Regions from separate parts of the Homo sapiens genome. Here all the other regions are linked to region 7. The links are contacts of gene promoters, found by promoter capture Hi-C in blood cells and fetal thymus (Javierre and others, 2016). All regions are on one chromosome and are shown on one strand. The core of a region is centred on a gene start or on the middle of the fragment in contact, and the rest is flanking DNA. Distances in the headings are between cores, read along the strand shown. Region 1 has its middle 120 kb from the start of KCNQ5. Region 2 has its middle 180 kb from the start of KCNQ5. Region 3 has its middle 160 kb from the start of KCNQ5. Region 4 has its middle 77 kb from the start of KCNQ5. Region 5 has its middle 140 kb from the start of KCNQ5. Region 6 has its middle 95 kb from the start of KCNQ5. Region 7 holds the start of KCNQ5-AS1 (KCNQ5 antisense RNA 1).

Region 1 (2,700 bases), core at 183-2,682, 640 kb after region 7:
AGAGAGTCTATTGTGGGATGTTGTGATCGTGTGAGTTAACACTCCTTAATAAACTCCCATAGATATGTATTTCTGTCCTATTAGTTCTGTCCCTCTAGAGAACTCTGACTAATACAATCACCATGAAGAAAAATTGCAGAGGAGCAAAACTTCTGTCCAGGGCCCCATCTATGAAGCTATAATTCAGGGAAGAAATAACTGTGGTCTGAACTGTGGTCCCACTAAGGCAGTGGGAAAGGGAGAGAAATATATATTTATATTTAATATATATATGGATTTGATAAATAATAAGGAAGTTTAAAAAGATCTTGTTTGCTGCTTTGCCTCTAGATTGATGGTGATGCACTTCACTGAGGGAGGAATAAGCGAGAGCACCAAGCCTGGTGGAAGGAACTTGAGAGAGGATGGGATTTGGTGATGAGTTTGGTTTTGTACTTGCTCATTTTGATATACCCAAGGGATACAAGTATTTATGTGGTTTTTAGGCAGTGGGCCATTCAGGTCTGTGCTTGGGAGTGATATCTGGATCCAACAGAGATTTGAGACCATCAGGACATGGGTGATGATCAAGACTTTGAAAAGGTGATTCAGGAAGATTGTGTAATGGAGGATGAGATGGGACATGAGAGCAGAACCCAGAGGAACATCAATATTTTAGGGACGATCAGAGGGAAAAGCATTTATGAATACTACTAAGAAGCGATTCCTAAAGAGGTAAAAGGAAGATAACAAAAACTTGTCACAGAGTCAAGTGAAATAAGAGTTTCCAGGAGACAAAGGCTAAGAATATCTAAGGAAACAGCAAGAAAGAACTAATAAGTGTCCTCACAGTGAAATACCAAAAAAAGAGATGAGTGATAGTAATGGTTAAAGCAGTTTTATCTAAGTGTAAGGGAGTGTTTATCATATAGGGAAAGTTTCTGAAAAGAGAGTTGTCCAAGAAGGAAATACAGGAATGTTCTCCCTATGACTAGGTATATTCAAGTACTGCTACTTGATAAGGTTTTTACATAATAAAAATTCAAACCTGAGATTTTTTTCTTAATTAAAAAATATAATAGAAATTTATAATATGAAGTTTATAATTATTACTGTGACTTCACCCTAAAGTAAACAGACATAAAAGTTAAGGAAATATTGTGAAAGAGCTGTATTCTAAATGAAACAGGGATATTCCTGATTGCTAATGTAATAAAATATTTATATAAATACATTTATGAAACAATTTAAAGCGTGGAGAAAAGTTGCAAAAAGGGAATGAAGAACTTTTTCCTCTGAGTTTGAGTAAGAGGATTATGTGATACTGCATCAACCCAGAATACTTTAATGAGTATTCTTTTCTTTTCTTTCTTTTTTTTTTTTTTTTTTTCTTTGAGGTGCAGTCTTACTCTGTCGCCCAGGCTGGAGTGCAGCAGCACACACTATCTTGGCTCACTGCACCCTGTGCCTCCTGGGTTCAAGCGGTTCTCATGTCTCAGGCCTCCGGATTAATTGAGACTACAGGCATGCAGCATGCCTGGCTAATTTGTATGTTTAGTTGAGATAGGGTTTCACCATGTTAGCCAGGCTGGTCTCAAATTCCTGACCTCAAGTGATCTGCCACCCTCAACCTCCCAAAGTGCTGGGATTACAGGCGTGAGCCACCACGCCTGGCCTAATGAGTATTTCTTATAACTGAAGACTTTATCTTACATTACTGTAAACCATCAATATCAGTAAATTCATATAAATATATGACTCTCATGTAACTTCAGACTCCATTTACATTTTATCAATTATTCAAATAACAAAAGGATCCAGTTCAGAATCAAATGTTGCATTTAGTTGTCATGTCTCTTTATTCTCCTTCAATTTGGAACAGATCCTAAATCTTTCCTTGACTTCATGATCTCGACACTTTTGAAGATAAAAAGGTCAGCTATTTTGTAGAATGTCCCTCAATTTTAGTTTTTTTGTGTGTTTCCTCATAATTAAATTCCATATATGCATTTTATTTCTTACAGGAGTACCGTAAAAGTTATATTGCATTTTCCTCATTGCATTTATCACCCAGTACCTGATTTGAATTGTCCTATTACTGGTAATATTAATGTTGATTACTTGTTTAAAGTAGTGCCTGCCAGGATTCTCCACTGGAAAGCTATTACTTTTCCCTTTGGAATGAAAGAATAATGGGGATGTATTCTGAGATTATGTAAATGTCCCATCTCTCATCGAACTTTCAATTAATTAGCTTATATTAACATATAATATACTAACTTATATTAATTAGCAGCTAACATATTAACTTATAATTAATTAACATATTAATTAACAAACTTATACTTAGCCCATGAGTATGGGCTGATGGATTCTTATTTTATTTGATGTTGTAATTTATTGATGTTGTTGTTATAATTTATTTTGATGTTCAAGTTGTCCTGGATTTGGCCAGTGGGAGCTTCTTTAAGCTGCTTCCTATGCTGTTAGACATGTCCTCATTATTCTTTCAGCACTCTTTATGGCATAACAAAATGTTCCAGACTCATCTTGTACTTTCCCTGCCCAGCCTTGGATTCAGCTATTTCAACAAGAAGCCCTAATTTTTTTCAAGAGAGAATAGCATTTAGTAACCAAGATCTGGGTGCTAGGTATTTTAAACATAGACACACAAGCACACACTGTGATAGTTCGTTTTTGGTGTCAACTTGACTAGGACAG
Region 2 (2,700 bases), core at 9-2,508, 700 kb after region 7:
GCATCTAGTGGAAGAGGCCAGGGATGCTGCTGAACATCTTAAAATGCACAAGACATCTCCCTACAAAAAAATTATTGGAATTATTGGGTACAGTGGTAGAAGAGACTCCTCTGTACCTTCTGCTCGAATTTTATACTTCTCTAAAAAGTGAAATCTATTAAAAATTATCTAGCCCCAAATGTCAATAGTACCAAGGTTGAGAAACCCTGTCCTGAAGGAAGCCATGAGAGTTCTTTACTAATTCTGAACCTACTTTCAATTTTTATGACAATGCTAGCTATTGTAAAGGAGAACAATTTTGTATACATATGCTTCCAAAGTGAGTTCAAATGTACATTTCTTTTTTTTCAAATCAGAAGATGATGCTATACTTTAGTAACATATGCTGCACAACATCACCCTCAAGATGAAGCCATTTAGCTATACCACAAATATGAGCCATGCTGAGGTGAGAATGAAATTCACTTTTAAATGAACATACTTATGCCAACAGAGGTAAACTAAATTAGAAGTATGCGATGAGAAATTTGGTCTCAGAATTTGGCTATGAGGGATGACCTACTTTGTGGGGGGTGGGGGGGCTCATTTTTGATTTCCAGAATCTGTGTGTTTCCCTCATTGCATGAGTCTTCCATACCCACACATCTTGTGGGCCATATGGTGCTCTTTTGGAATGACTTTCATTTGATTTTCTCCTTTTCAGAGATTTTTTTTTTTTAAATTTTCACTCTGTCAGAAAGCACAGAGGTCCTTGAGGAAGGGTCTTTTGTCAAAATGCTCTTCTTAGTAGTAGTGACCTTTGATGATTCCACTAGGATTCTTAGCAGAATAATATATCTTCTGAAAAAAAAAGCAAAAAACAAACAGACAAAAAAACCAGAAGTATAGCCTACTGGTGAAGCTTAGAGAAGCATTTTATATAACTTGTTTGGAGGAAGGAAGGAACCCACTCTTCATTTGGGGTTAGGACTTCATTAGTTTCCTCATGGGGAAAATTCACAGATTTCTTTTAGGCAGGGGTTGTGTGATGGGGAAAATGGGCAAGCACAGAGGTGAGTTAGGGGTTAAGGATGGGAGAATACAAACGTCACTTACTGGGGAGTTACTCACTGCAAACCTCAGGGCCATGGAAGAAAGGCACTTGACAAAATCACGTGTGACCTGAGATGTTCAGCAGTGAGGAAGATGAGAGAAAATGGCTCACTACTTCTTACAAGGACCAACCCAAATACGGGGGGACTTCAAAAAATACATGGAAAAATGGAATTAAAAGACAAAAATTGCCAACTTTATTTTTCAACATAAGCCCCATCAAGTTCGGGACACTTCTGAAAGCTATGATACCAGTCATTTAGTCCATCCTTAAAGAAATGAGAGTTGGGAATGTAGCCATGTCAATGCCATCTTTTTTTACATTAGTAACTGAAGAAAAATGGTGCCCTTTAAAGATTAGTTAAATATTAGGAAACAAAAGAAGTTAGCAGAATTTAAATCAAGACTGTAAGGTGAAAGCCTAACGATTTTCCATCAAAACTTTCACAAAATTGCCCTTGTTTGATGAAAGGAATGAGCAAGAGCATTGTCATGGAGGAGGCAGACTCTCTGGTGAAGCTTTCCCAGGTGTTTTTCTTCTAAAACTTTGGCTAACTTCCTTCAAACACACTCATAATAAGCAGATGTTATTGTTTTTGCGTCCCACCCCCTGCTCCTGGAAAGTCAACACACAAAATGCCTTGAGCATCCCCAAAACTGCCGTGATCTTTGTTCTTGATTAATCCACTTTTGCTTTGACTGGACCTCTTCCACCTCTTGGTAGCCATTGCTTTGATTGTGCTTGTCTTTGGGATCATACTAGTAAAGCCTTGTCTATCTCCTGTTACAATTCTTCAAAGAAATGCTTCAGGATCTTGATCCTACTTGTTTAAAATTTCAATTGAAAACTCTGATCTTGTCTGTAGCTCAAGTGGGCACAACATTTTTGGCACTTACCAAGTGGAAAGTTTGCTCTGCTTTAATTTTTAGTTCACAGCTGTGTAAGCTGAATAAGTTAAGATGCCTATGGTGTTGGGCTACTGTTTCTGCTGTTAATTGCTGGTCCTTTTCAATTGGGACACAAACAAGATGAGTGTTTCCTTGCAAGTATGTGTGGATGGTATGGCACTGTGAGCTTCATCTTCAACAATATCTCATTCCCTCTTGAAATGAGTTATTCACTTGTAAACTGCTGATTTATTTGGGACATTTTCCCCATAAACTTTCATAAAGCATTATTTATTTCATCATTCTTCCACGCAAGTTTTACCATAAATTGATGTTCATTCTTGCTTTAATTTTAGCAGAGTTCATGTTGCTCTGATTGGGGCTCTCTTGAAACTCATATCTTATCCTTCTTAGTGGCTCAAATTAGATGCTGTTGAGGCATGTTATAAAAAGTTAGTACAAGTATATTTTGGTGCAAAAAATTTAAAATCCATGCATTTTTTCAGAATATATATTTGTTTTCTGTAAACTTTTAAACTATCTATTAGTATTGAAAATGCCAACAGGACAGCAGGAGAGACTCACGATTAATTAAATACAATTAAGGAGTGGAACTTACTGTACCAAAACAGAACCTGCTCACTTCCCAGAAAGCCTGCCCAGACTTTTAGTTTTCCATCCATTGGTCTTCTTTAAATGTAATTTTTCAGCTTCAGTGTA
Region 3 (2,700 bases), core at 51-2,550, 680 kb after region 7:
GCTTTAGAAATATTTATTGAAAAATTAAGCAAGTAAGGCAAAACATGTGAAAAGGGGACTTAAAACTGTGTTAGGGAGTAGTCCAGCCTGGCTAGAGAAGTGAAGGCAAGGTTTAATGTCAAGGAAAAACCAGATAAAGGAGGCCTGGAAGGAAGGTGATGCGTTCATTTTCTATGGTAGAAAAATGGAAATCAATAAAACTGCCTGGTACTCAAGAGAGATTACTCTGACAGCAGAATATGATATGGATCAGAAAGAGAAACTAAGTGAGGTAGCATCAATTTCAGTTCTTTTCTGCCTTGGCAGGCTTGTTGCAAATGTTTGCACTTTGTGCTTAGCTGAGGAAAACAACCTCAAAGCAAGATGTGTGTTGTGGAGGGGAGAGTGAGGCTGCTGCAAGAATGTTAGGATGCACAGCTGGAACTGGCTTTGTGGTTACTCAATGTGGCTGGGGAATGCTGACGTGTAGGCAATTCATTTTGAACTAAGACTTCTAGAAAAATCTCATGAGAAGGCATATGAAATATAGCCTTAGAACTCAAAGGATGAACTACACTGGAGCTACTGCAGCACAGTTACAAGGAGTATACCCTCTTTACATCATGATGAGTACCAAGAACCAGGCTTTCTTGTCAGAAAAGAAAGGCAACCATATACCTATATTTACCTTAGACATGAGGAACACACCTTACTTAAAAAAATAAACAAGAAAAACCTTTGGTAGGATAATTCCTACATTAAATTTTTTGCATCTTGGTTGATTCATTAAATGTCTGTTATGGGGGATAAGAATCTATATATGTCATTTCACTGGAAATGCAGCAATGTATATTTGTAAGGATTTGAGATAGACTGCTTGGGTTTGAATCTACCACTTACTAGTCCCATGACTTTAGGCAAGCTATTTAACCTCTCTGTTCCTCCATTTCCTTATCTGAAAATGAGGTAATTCTAGAAGCTTCCATATAGGGTTATTAGGAGGATTAAATGTTATTAATTACATATGAAGTGCTTAGATTAGCATATAACTCCTAGGTGGTGATAAACAAATATCGGCTATTATTATTATATTAACTTTGTATTTTCTATGTCTTTTTCCTAAGGAAGAAACTATTACTGTCAATTTTTCTATGGTAGAAAACATAAATGGCTGATACTAAGTAACACAGTGAATTATTTGATGGCATTCAGAAAGTTCTCCCTTCTCAAACTCTTCTGGTAAAGAGAGCCATATTTTTACTTTTCTGGAACAATGCTTAAAAAATACACTTACTGAGTTGAACAAAACAGAATCATAAATATATTAGTTACATTTTGCTTTTCCTGTCTGAGAAAGCCTGAAAAATACATTTTGCTTTCCATCTGAAAGGACATCTAAAAGGAACCAGACCATACAATGACACCGAGATGTTTGTACCTGAAGTAAAATGAATCATAGCAGAAAAGGATAATGTCTGACAGGAGGCTTTAGATATTGTTTTGATTATCCAGTTATTTTCCATGTAAAAGCCACTTGTGTCTTGGAGTGGACCCTGTCATCTGAAAAGCACTTCATCTTGTTGTATTTTCAAAGATTTAAATGGAAGCTGTTGCTTTTGGGAAGCAGCCATAAGGAGAGACTTGGCTATGTTTAAAAGCTTCAATCCATTTGTCTCCTATTATCAGTGGGTCCCTCCCTTGTGTTACAGGTTTGGCTTCCTCCAGAAGCTAATACTAATCTGATAATCATGGAAATATAAAGTCTTCAAGCATTGTATGCACACAGTGTGCCAAGCATATTGTACCATCACATACAAGAATACTGACATGTAACTCTCAACAGCAACCTTGCAATGTTGGTATGATTTTTCCAAACTCACAGAAGAAGAAACAGAGCTACAGGGGTTAAGTCCCTCGTTCAAAGTCACACAGCTGTAAAGTGAAGGAATAAGAATATTATTATCTCAATTATTATCACCAGCTTCACTGGATATTGTTCAAGCCCTTTCATTTAAACTAATACAAAATTTAATATAAAACCGAACCACAGATTTCAGGGAGTCCAACCTAAACTTGGGCAACATAAAACAAGATTCAAAAGACTTGTTATATCACTACCTTTTGTGCTGCCTGGGTATCGATGAGTGTTGTGTGAATTGGTCTTAGGCATTTTTAGTTATATAGTAAATTCACTGAAAATTCAGTCTTGAGGGCGGGAGTCCCATTTTCTTTTCGTTAACGCAGCACTCCCATTGTTTTGATGCCACTGTATAATAGGTACGTTATTAATACAAAATGAAATAATCTTTCCTGTGAAAGATTCTTAGGCTGTAAGGTGAAAAGTGAAACTGGCTCTATTTGCAATAGTGTTAAACTATAAATGAATTCCAAAGTTAAAAAAAAGATGATCTTATATATTACCCTTTGATGCTTTTTATTGACATTTGAAATTCTAAAAATATGCTGTCTCTTGGTTCATGGGGAAAAAAAATGGACATAACCATATAGCTGTGACCCTCTCAAGTGAGAGGCTCAGTTGACCAAGTTGAAAAAATTATGTGCAGACACAATTGACTCCTTCTTTTCCACGTCGCCAACAACTGCTTTAAAGACTCTAGAAGTACACATAGCATAGGAAGAATGAGGGAGAGTTCCAATTATTAAGGTAACTTAGTTTTTTTGCTTTGATAGTATTATATGGCATCAGGATATATTTGTTAT
Region 4 (2,700 bases), core at 44-2,543, 600 kb after region 7:
AACTATGCGTACTGCCTGCAGTACATTGTGTTAGTGACAAATAAGCATGAAATTCTCTGTTTACCTGAGGTCGGTAAGATCCTAACCAGTTTTCTTGTCTCTCTAGGTGGGCTTAAGATTGAGTCCACTGGTCAATGTCTATTCTGCTTTCAAGTGGCTATGCTTTTAAAATAATATCTGTGAAACTGCAAAATACTATTATTTAATACATATACATTCTCTTCACTTTAGATTAAGACTATCCTATAAATTTGGAATACATCTTCTCTGATACTGCGTAAGTTTAGAGCCATGCCATTGCCTAATATCAAGTTATAATTTTCCGTACAAAATTGATGGAAAGTTTAATAATACAGTGATATGCAAATTATATTAAAAATCTCACACCCATACACAAAGGTTGAGTTGTGGAAAAAGCCAATTGGACAGTAGATTTGCCAATATTTCCCTTAAGGCTTTCTCTTTTATATTAAGAAATTTTATTGATCAAATAAGTGTTCTTTAATAATTTATTCTTCCCTTTCTATGTATTTAAAATGCAATGTAAACATAATTTGTACACATTCTTGCATGGATTAGGGGCTCTGTTCTTTATTTTCTCTTAAAATTCAGTATCAACACCTTAGTTCCAAAGGCTAAAAACATAAAGGGCCAAATGTAAATATTTTCAGCTTTGTTAGAACTACAGGCATACTTTGGAGATGTTGTGGATTTGATTCCAGACCACCTTAACAAAGCAAATATCTCTATAAAGTAAGTCATACAAATGTTTGGGTTTCCTAGCACATATACAATTATGTTTACACTATACTGTAGTGTATTTGGTATGCAATAGCATTATGTTAAAAATGTACATATTATAATTTAAAAATACTTTATTGCTAAAAAATGTTAATGATTGCTTGAGCCTTCAACGAGTCATAATCTTTTTGCTGGTGGAGGGTTTTGCCTCAATGATGATGGCTACTGACTGATCAAGGGTGGCTGCTGAAGGTTGGGGTGGCTATGGCAATTTCTTAAAATAAGACAATGAAGCTTGCCTCGTCAATTGACTCTTTCTTTTACGAAAATATTATCTGTAGTGTGTGATGCTATTTGATAGCATTTTGCCCATAGTAGAACTTCTTTCAAAATTGAAGTCAGTCCTCTCAAACCCTGCCACTGCTTTATCAACTAAGTTTACATACTTTTCTAAATCTTGTGTTGCCATTTAACAATGCTGACAGTATCTTTACCAGTAGTAGATTCCATCTCAAGAAACTACTTTCTTTGCTCATCCATGAGAAGCAACTCCTCATCTGTTCAAGTTTTATCAGGGGATTGCAGCAATTCAGTCACATCTTTAGGCTCCATTTCTAATTCTAATTCTTTTGCTATTTCCACCAGATCCGTAGTTACTTTCTCTAGTGAAGTCTTCAACTCCTCAAAGTTATCCATGAGGGTTAGGTTAACTTCTTCCAAACTCCTATTATTGATGGTTTTTTGACCTCCTCTCATGAATTACTAATATTCTAAAGCATTTATCATGATGAATTCTTTCCAGAAGCTTTGAAATTTATTTTGCCCAGATCCATGAGAGGAATAACTACCTATGGTAACTATAGCCTTACAAAATATATTTCTGAAGTAATAAGACTTAAATGTAGAAATTGCTACTCGATCCATGGGCTGCAGAATGAATATTGTGTTATAAGCCATTAAAATAACATTTATCTCCTTGTATATCTTTATCAGAGCTCTTGAGTAACCAGGCGCATTGTCAATGACCAGTAATATGTTGAAAGAAATCTTTTCTTCTGAGAAGTAGATCTCAACAATGGGTTTAAAATATACAGGAAACCATGCTGTAGACAGAAGTGGCATCATCCAGGCTATGTTCAATTTATAGAGCGCCAGAAGAATAGATTTAACATAATTTTAAAAAGTCTTAAAATTTTCAGAATGGTAAATGAACATTGGCTGCGATTTAGAGTCACTAACTGCATGAGCCCCTAACAAGAGAATCAGCCTTTCCCTTGAAGCTTTGAAACAAGGCATTGACTTTCCTCTCCAGTTATGGAAATCCTATGTGGCACTTTCTTCCAACAAAAGACTATTTTTTCTACCTTGAAAATCTATTGTTTAGTGTAGCCACTTTCATTAATTATCTTAGCTGGATCTTCTGGATAACTTGCTGCAGCTTCTACATGAGCACTTACTGTTTCACTTTGCAATTTTAGGTTGTGGAGATGGCTTCTTCAACTTCATGAACCAGTCTCTGCCAGCTTCCAACTTTTCTTCTCTAGTTTTTCTCATCTCTCTTGGCCTTCATAGAATAGAAGAGAGTTAGGGCCTTGTTACACCATCAAGAAAATAGAAGGCTTGGACAACATTAAATACCAACCAGACAGATACAGAACACTACACTCAAAAACAGCAGAATACACATTTTTCTGAAGTGCACATGGAACATTCTGTAAGATTCATTATAAGTTTGGCTATGACTTTTGTTAAATTTAAAAGAATGAAAGTCATGCAAAGTATATTCTCTGACTACCATAGAATAAAATTAGAAATCATTAACAGAAGAAAATTTTAGAAGTGAACAAAGATGTAGAAATCAAACCTCACATTCCTAAATAACCAATGGGTCACATAAGAAATCAGAAGGGAAATTGGAAAATAGTTTGAGATGAATGAAAATGAAAACACATCATACCA
Region 5 (2,700 bases), core at 76-2,575, 660 kb after region 7:
AAACAAATGAGAACTCTGTATTGTCTTTTATATTGCTAAGAATATATTCCTCAGAATGTCAATTACTGTAAAAAATTGAGATGTTTTTCCTTCTGCACCGTGACTCCCATGCCATTTCATCAAAAGCATGAGTAGGGAGTTATTCTTGGAGTTCATAATGGCTGAATTGGAACAGATAGAAATGCTGGGGTGAAATGGGGAGAAGTAAGGTTGAGGCATGGGGAGAAGGATAGGTGAGGCAAAGTCAATACAGATTCTTTGGTGTTCCTGATTTGTAAGCTTGTATTCATTGATACAGAGTTCACAAGGTGCTGGTCATCTTCTAGGGGCTGAAATAACATAAATATCTAGTTATTAACAGAAAAAATAAGAACTTCTCATCTAATTATTTTTCTAGGAACAGAGTGACCTCCTGTTTCTACCTTCTGCTTTCTTTATGTATCTATCCCTATGCTGATTTTCCTATAGTTCTTATGAACTAACCATTTCTCCTTAATTCAGTCGTACAACACAGCCTAATGCTCTGTTCTTCCAGTGGGCTTTACTGATATCTTGATACCAAGTCATTTGGTACAAAGTGAGCACAGCATTCTTTATTATGCTTAATTTATAGTCAGGAATCCAGGTTTCACAATGCAATAGGATTATGCCTTCTTTCATGCTCTATTTTTAATAGATAAGTTACAATTTTGAAAATCTATTGATAAACCAATCTGGCTTACTAGAATTGACAAGTGCCTATGTTAACTAAGATCCAGCAATCCCTCTCCTACGTATAAATGCTAGAGAAATTATTGCATGTATGTAACCAGGAAGAGGCAAATGAACGTTCATAATTTGTAACACACACACCAAAAAAACCAGAAATAATCTGCAAGTGCATTAACATTAGAATGGATAAATAAATTATGGTATATTGATACCATGGCATACTATTCATCAGTGACACAATACAAACAGTTACACACTCTACATGGATAAATCTTAAAGGAATAGCAGAGAATAAAAACAGGAAATCTGGCTCACGCCTGTAATCCCAGCACTTTGGGAGGCCGAGGCGGGCGGATCACGAGGTCAGGAGTTCGAGACCATCCTGGCTAACACGGTGAAACTCCGTCTCTACTAAAAATACAAAAAATTAGCCAGGCGTGATGGCGGGCGCCTGTAGTCCCAGCTACTCAGGAGGCTGAGGCAGGAGAATGGCGTGAACCCGGGAGTCGGAGCTTGCAGTGAGTGAGCCGAGATCGCAACCATGCACTCCAGCTACTCAGGAGGCTGAGGCAGGAGAATGGCGTGAACCCGGGAGTCGGAGCTTGCAGTGAGTGAGCCGAGATCGCAACCCTGCACTCCAGCCTGGGCGACAGAGCAAGACGCCGTCTAAACAAAACAAAACAAAACAAAACAAAACAAAAAAACAGGAAATCATAGAAGAATTCATATAGTATGATTATTCCATTTATATACAGCTTGAAGACAGGCAAAACTAAACACTACATTGTTGGTATATATATGAATGGCAAAACTATACAGAAAAGTGACAGAATAATTAATACAAAAGTCATATTAGAGGTCAACCCAGGAGGATGGTAGGGGGATGTGATCTGAGAAAGGCACACCAGGGAATTCAAAGATGCTGCTAATATTCTACACCTTAAGATGAATGATGTGTACACATTGTTCATATACGTACAATACTCCTGTGCATATAATTCATAATTTTCAAAAAGAAATTGTAAGAGGCCACACAATAGTACAGTTTGTGATACCTCCACCAACCAATAACTTTGAAAATAGATAGGGACTCTTCTACTTCCTATCCAAATTTTTATACATGGGGAAGGATTTTGTGGGTTTAACATAGGTTCTGCTGTTTTGAGTCTGCTTTTTAGACATTTTAAAAGTTCCCTTTCCCAGAAACCATTATACTGTCTCATACTAATTCCTAAATGTGCACAGGGGGTCAACTTGTACGGAGTGAGGCTGGAACCCATCAACGTTTATCTCACAAGCTGTGTGAAACCAATGATACTTCCCAAATCAAAACTCAACATGAGGCTCAAGTTCAGAGATTTCTAGCCATGTCTTTCTTTTTTTAATGAAAAATAAAGTCAGGGTGGAAGAAGTCTGAGAGTTTGATTCTTGCACGTTTGAGAATTACCTCAGGCCATGAAAACTCATAGTATATTTTAAAAAGAAAGAAATTTGTAAAGTGCTCTAGTTCCACCTCCTAATTTTACAGAGGAGAAAATTGAGGCTAAGAGAAATTAAATCAGCTATAAAAGTAACTTCAGCGAGTAGTGGAAGTCCAGCATCAAACTCAGCTCTCCTTTTAATCTAGTGCCTGGCATTGTAGTGGAGTGGTTAAGCTTGAGTGGTTAAGCTTGAGTGGTTGAGTCAGAGAGACCTGAGTTCAGATTCTAGCTTTTCCGCTTACTAATTATGCACCTTGGGCAAATTAAGTTACTTAACCTCCAAGTCTTAAAATGAAGATAATAATAATTCTTATTACATAAGGATTATATAAGAATTCAATTAGATCATATATAATATGATAATTTATACAATGCTTGGCTCTCAGTAAGTACTGGATAAATGGTATCTGCTATTACTATGAGCAAAAAAATTATGAAAACAAAAATCAATTTGTAATCAATTCTGAAACTGGTATTTGTTCTTAAATGTTCTGTAAAGTGTGTAAAA
Region 6 (2,700 bases), core at 118-2,617, 620 kb after region 7:
GAAATCTTTTCTGCAAATCCTCATACAAAAGAATGGCTACACATCTGTCAGAGTTTAGCTTTGGCTTAAGCCTATAAAGTTAAAAGTTTAAGATGACTTTTCAAAGTCCCTTCTTTTTTTTTTTTTTTTTTTTTTGAGGCAGAATCTCACTCTGTGACCCAGGCTGGAATGCAGTCGTGCAGTCTTGGCTAACTGCAACCTCCACCTCCCGGATTCAAGTGATCCTCCCCACCTCAGCCTCTCAAGTATCAGGGATTATAGGCATGGGCCATGATGCCCAGCTAATTTTTGTATTTTTAGTAGGGATAGGGTTTCACCATGTTGGCCAGGTTGGTTTGGAACTCCTGACCTCAAGTGATTTGCCCGCCTTGGCCTCCCAAAGTGTTGGGATTACAGGCATGAGCCACCATGCCTGGCCTCAAAGTCCCTTCTAAATCCTGATTACACTGTGATAGTATACATTTTTAATAATAATTTTTCTTTAACAAACTACTTGATGCTAACCCTCAAAAACAAGACCTTTCATTGTTAAACTTGCTAGGACTGCCATAAAAGTTTTGGAGACTAATAAAGTTTTTCCTGAAATTTCTTGTGAGCAATCAGAAAATGTGCATATATGTTTACATATATATGAACTACTTTAACTTCAATTAAATTGGGTGAAAACATTCAAAATTTAGCAAATTGTTATTTGGAAACAGATGTTGTTATGACAGTTTTAAAAAGTTGATTACATTTCAATGTGAGGCTGGGATGCAGCTTCAGCTGCAGTGCCTGAGATCTTCTATAGTGAATGTTGACATTCAGGGCTGGTTGTTACAATGTCTTCGTTATATTGATGCTATCACTATAGTTTTTGTGGATAATTACTTTTTGAGTATTGCTTTTGAATGTTTTATGACATTTTGTTCTCAATAGGATGTTTAAGCGTATATGAAAACTAAACTTTGGGATAAAAGCTCTTCATTAACCAGGCAGAGAACAGAGCTGGTCATACATATATAATCTATTAAGTAGATAAAATTATGTATTTAATTCTAACTAGGCAAGGTAAACAGGGCTGATCACTCATACATAAAATAAAAATAAAGATAGTAATCAATTCTACTTTGGGCAAGTCACCTACACACAGGTCAGCTTTTCCAGCTTCACAGAGGTTATGGTTTCACAGCTGGCTTTGCATGTCAGTGGAGAAATATGGCGATTTGCTTAACATGATGTAAAATATTCAATATCTACTTCATTGGTTTAGGACATTGACAGCCTTTGCTAAAATGTGAATGTTATTTGGTGTGTTGATATATTAATTACAATGTTGGCTTAGTAAAATAGTTACCTTTTAAAAGGATGTTAAACATGAGCTGTATGTTCTTGGTTTGGATGTGTGTGGGATAAAGAAAGGTCTAGAGCATGAGATAGTGCCTGGTGTTGAAGGACTTGGGTTGAACACCATGGTAGAAAGATGATGGTTGAGATGAGGATACCCATTCACGTTCTTGCACATGGGGTAGATGTTAGCAGAGATACAATACAGAGTTGAAATGTCTTGAGACTACACTTTATCTCCTTTGCCTGGAATAAGTCAGTGCCTTTAAGTATAAACACATTGTATGAACGCTTTCTCCACTCAGGGTGCTGCTTCCATGTTATTTATAGTCAGTCCTCATAATGAATCAACATCATTCTCTCTAAATCTTGGACTATCAATTCTAACTTTACCCTTTCAGGCCACACAAAATTTGGTTTGGGGTTGAACACACCTAGCATTTCTTTTCTTTTACAGAGTACGGGGTAGCTGAGATGATATATGTGCAGGATATACTATGCAAAGGGCCTTGGGACAAACAAGAATCCTTAAATGTATCCATCCTACAACTCATAAATAGTAACTATCTTAATTGTATCCACCATTGTGTAGGTCAGTATGTCCTTGAATACATGGGGGAAATGGTGTTTCTGTAAAAAGTTGGTAAACTGCTGATAGATTTTTCTATATCTTCCCAAGTTACAGAAAATAGCAGGGAGGGATAGTTATTTATGAAAGTCAGGCTGGAATAGATGGGCCAGAGTGGCCCTGCCCAGAAGAGAATGGGAAATATCACTGGATTTATGGCAATCTGAGTGGATTTTTGTAGAGACATATCAAAAGACCTGTCTTTCATTCTGTTCTATTCAATAGTATAAATAAGTGGGCTTAGAAAAATATGTCAAAGACATGTCAGTCAAGTTCAGAGATTAAAAATTAAGGAACAATAATTAATATTATGGATAAAGAAACAGAAATTGAGAATGACAGTAAAGAGCATTCGATGCTGGGATAACTGTTACATAAAGACTTTTAAGAGATCTAAATGTAAAGTTATATGTTCTGGTTCAGAAGTTAAATTGTACAATTCCAGGGTACAGAATATTTGGCTTAGCTGATTGTGAGTTCAATGAATAAAAAGCAGATGTGTCTGCCAAGAAAGCTCCTGTGGTTTAGCCTGGGTTTATAGAAAGTGTCTAAGTGGTCTTGCTGGATTTTGTGTTGATTAGACATTACCAGGAAGCATCTGTTCAATGATAGCTGAGATTCCTAAAGGATGTCCAGAGGGAGATGTTTGGAATAGCTAGCTGTCTAGAAACCATATCACATGGTTGGAGAAATGGGATGTTTAACTTATAGAATGTAGATCTGAAGGGGGATACATGATGGGTGGT
Region 7 (2,700 bases), core at 74-2,573:
CCACCACCATGTGAACCAGCCCAGCCTGCTGGAGGATGAGAGACCACATGAGCAAAGAGCAGTAATTCTAACTGAGACCACCTTAGTCCAGTCAGCACCAGCCAACACAGCAGCTGAACACAGAGCATGAGTCAGTTCACTTAAGACCAGAAGAACTGCCTAACAGAATTGTGGGCTAAACAAATGGTTGCTGTTTTAAGCCACTAAATCTGAGGGAGAGGGTTAGCTATGCAACAGATAACATGAAGAGATATAGGGTCATGACATTTTTCAATCAAAACACAAAATTATGGGAACAATAGTTTCAAAAGAGTTTTGGGAATGATTAGTCATCAATTCCAATAGAACGATGTGGTATAACAATTGCTACTGCATTAGATTAATGAAAGACGCAAATCTCAGGGTTTCATGTGCAAATGATTCTCTTGGTAGCTGGAGGTAGAGAGATTAATTTTTCCCAGGTAATGTTATTCTGAGGTTTCTATGCTTTTGGAGTTCAGAAATTGTTGTTATGCATTATACATGGCAAAAGAAGAAAAAGATGGCAAGGGAAGAAAAGCCGAACAAATTAGATGTTGAAAATAAAATACCTGTAAAAGCAATTTGGGACAATGTCAGGGAGTTTTATACTGCAGGTAGCAAAAAGCAAAGCCTGGGTAACTCATCTCTTTCCCATGTCAGTCATCCATTGCAGAAAAAGGATCCTGGCCTTTACTTAACCTTGTTTCCCCCCTTCTTTACCAAGTAGAGCACACCATGAAAGCGATTAAATATAATTTTAAAATTGTGTCATATTGGTTTCTGTTTATGCAGCAGACAACTAAGTGTGACTTTGAAGGAAATAATTTGAGATATATGAAGGAAAAATCACCATGCAGCTGAAAAGTGCTTCTCTTAAATATGGGCTAAATTCTGTGATTTGTGTAATGGTTAATTTTGTGCTTATTTTGTGCGAATTTTGGACGTCACCCACAGGTTATTTCTGAAAACTATGAAGTCTGAAGAATGAGGAAGGTGCCTTTTGTTCCCCTCAGTGCCAATCAATACTGTAACTGAGGTGGGCTGGGGTGGTAAAACTTACAGACAAACAGTAAGTTCTTTGGGGTGACAGTTGTCACGCCTCCTCCCTGCCTTCTAAATGCCCAGAAACATGCTAGCTCTGAGTAGCAGCCCTCAAATACCTTCTGATATGAATTGAAATCCAGTGGAGGGCTTATTCAAGTTCTAAGAATGAGCCGCTATGGAGCACACACATAAACCTCACAATGGTGGGTGGGACACACCTGATACACTTCTTAGGACAGAAAGGACTATGGCTGACAGTGAAAGTGGAAAAGAAACAGTGGGAGGAATGAGAGGCAAGAAGCAGCGGGTAGCACTTTTCTCGGTATCAAAGAGACGTGAAACTAGGGTAAGGACAGAAAACTCACTCCTGGCATTCCTCAGCCAATCCTTGCTTTCCTCTTCTATTTCTTAGTATAGAATTGCTAGTGAGGATACGAGTTAATGGCTAAGGAAGATACTTTGCATTGGTCCAGAAGAGCAGATTATAAAAACTCAGATTTGGAAGAAAATTTCTTAGAGGTTTTCTGGTTTGATCTCCTTAAGCTTCCAGAAATTCCTGACTGTTGATCATCCAACTTTGATTTGAATGCTTCCAATTATGGAATCCACTCAATTGCTGTGGAGTCTCTAAGTGCTAAGCTGCCATTATATTGAACTAAATATTGGTATCACACACCTTTTAGTTCTGCTTCTGCCCTTTGAAGCAACCAAGAACATATCTTCAACCTCTTGAAAAGCTGAAGAGGGGCCATACATTGTACAAGAAAGAGAGCTGCGTTAGAAGTTATGACACTTTGGTTTTGCAACTGACTAGTTCATGTCCTGCTCCCTCAATTTATTTATTTATTTATTTTCGAGATGGAGTCTTGCTCTTGTCGCCCAGGCTGGAGTGCAAGGGTGCAATCTCAGCTCACTGCAACCTCCTCTTCCTGGATTCAAGTGATTCTCCTGCCTCAGCCTCCTGAGTAGCTGGGATTACAGGTGCCCGCCACCACGCCTGGCTAATTTTTGTATTTTTAGTAGAGACAGGGTTTCACCATGTTGACCAGGCTGGTCTCGAACTCCTGACCTCAGGTGATCCATCCCCCTCAGCCTCCCAAAGTGCTGGGATTACAGGCATGAACCATCGCACCTGGCCTCCTCATTTTATTTAACTTGTTGCTGCAGTAATCACATACTCAATATTTTGTTAATATTCCTTTTGAGAGTCTGCACTAAGAGTGGAATATAATTGCGTAGCTATAGGTTGAGGCCAGGATTTTTTTTTTTTTTTGAGATATAATACAAAGGATACTGGACATAAAATGGTTAGACCAGAAGTTATAAACCCATGTCGTTAAAGGCAGGTAGGTAACGGAGAGGTCGAAAGGAATGGGGAATTGGTGGTTTGGGTTCCTGGAAAGACAATAGGGACTGGTTGAAATCTGCAATTTAAAAGACATAATCTATCTGAAGGCATTTGTGGTAGCCTGACTCTAACATGGTCCCCAGTGGCCCTCATCTCCTGGTATTACCCCCCTGTATAGTCCCTGCCTACACTGTACAGGGTTGGTCTTTGTGACCACTTACACATGAAAGAAGCGATGGCATAACACTTCTGAGCTTATGTCATAAAAGACTGCAGCTTCTCTCTGC

What was found. Contacts are between HindIII fragments. The CHiCAGO score rates a contact against its expected background, and 5 or more counts as called.
Region 1: a fragment that was not itself captured here is called in contact with the fragment with the promoter of KCNQ5-AS1 in region 7 in 11 of 17 cell types (naive CD8 T cells, fetal thymus, non-activated CD4 T cells and 8 more); the score reaches 11.5 in naive CD8 T cells.
Region 2: a contact is called between a fragment that was not itself captured here and the fragment with the promoter of KCNQ5-AS1 in region 7, in 16 of 17 cell types (naive CD8 T cells, naive CD4 T cells, total B cells and 13 more). The highest score is 16.4, in naive CD8 T cells.
Region 3: a contact is called between a fragment that was not itself captured here and the fragment with the promoter of KCNQ5-AS1 in region 7, in 14 of 17 cell types (activated CD4 T cells, naive CD4 T cells, naive CD8 T cells and 11 more). The highest score is 12.5, in activated CD4 T cells.
Region 4: a fragment that was not itself captured here is called in contact with the fragment with the promoter of KCNQ5-AS1 in region 7 in 2 of 17 cell types (total B cells and total CD8 T cells); the score reaches 7.2 in total B cells.
Region 5: a fragment that was not itself captured here is called in contact with the fragment with the promoter of KCNQ5-AS1 in region 7 in 12 of 17 cell types (naive CD8 T cells, activated CD4 T cells, fetal thymus and 9 more); the score reaches 11.7 in naive CD8 T cells.
Region 6: a contact is called between a fragment that was not itself captured here and the fragment with the promoter of KCNQ5-AS1 in region 7, in 14 of 17 cell types (fetal thymus, naive CD8 T cells, activated CD4 T cells and 11 more). The highest score is 11.3, in fetal thymus.

Annotation. Positions count from the first base shown.
Region 1 is chr6:72,500,987-72,503,686 of GRCh38, reverse strand. No RefSeq gene overlaps it. Among named protein-coding and RNA genes, the nearest start is that of KCNQ5, 120 kb to the left of the region's middle. The HindIII fragment of the contact is 5,950 bases long and covers 1-2,700 here.
Region 2 is chr6:72,438,699-72,441,398 of GRCh38, reverse strand. No RefSeq gene overlaps it. Among named protein-coding and RNA genes, the nearest start is that of KCNQ5, 180 kb to the left of the region's middle. The HindIII fragment of the contact is 710 bases long and covers 904-1,613 here.
Region 3 is chr6:72,459,016-72,461,715 of GRCh38, reverse strand. No RefSeq gene overlaps it. Among named protein-coding and RNA genes, the nearest start is that of KCNQ5, 160 kb to the left of the region's middle. The HindIII fragment of the contact is 679 bases long and covers 961-1,639 here.
Region 4 is chr6:72,544,086-72,546,785 of GRCh38, reverse strand. No RefSeq gene overlaps it. Among named protein-coding and RNA genes, the nearest start is that of KCNQ5, 77 kb to the left of the region's middle. The HindIII fragment of the contact is 511 bases long and covers 1,038-1,548 here.
Region 5 is chr6:72,484,859-72,487,558 of GRCh38, reverse strand. No RefSeq gene overlaps it. Among named protein-coding and RNA genes, the nearest start is that of KCNQ5, 140 kb to the left of the region's middle. The HindIII fragment of the contact is 2,087 bases long and covers 282-2,368 here.
Region 6 is chr6:72,526,193-72,528,892 of GRCh38, reverse strand. No RefSeq gene overlaps it. Among named protein-coding and RNA genes, the nearest start is that of KCNQ5, 95 kb to the left of the region's middle. The HindIII fragment of the contact is 4,994 bases long and covers 1-2,700 here.
Region 7 is chr6:73,142,137-73,144,836 of GRCh38, reverse strand. It overlaps KCNQ5-AS1 (KCNQ5 antisense RNA 1), which reads left to right and starts at 1,323. Exons shown (of 5, transcript NR_046621.1): 1 at 1,323-1,411. All of the region lies in intron 10 of KCNQ5 (potassium voltage-gated channel subfamily Q member 5), which reads right to left. The HindIII fragment of the contact is 1,820 bases long and covers 1-1,610 here.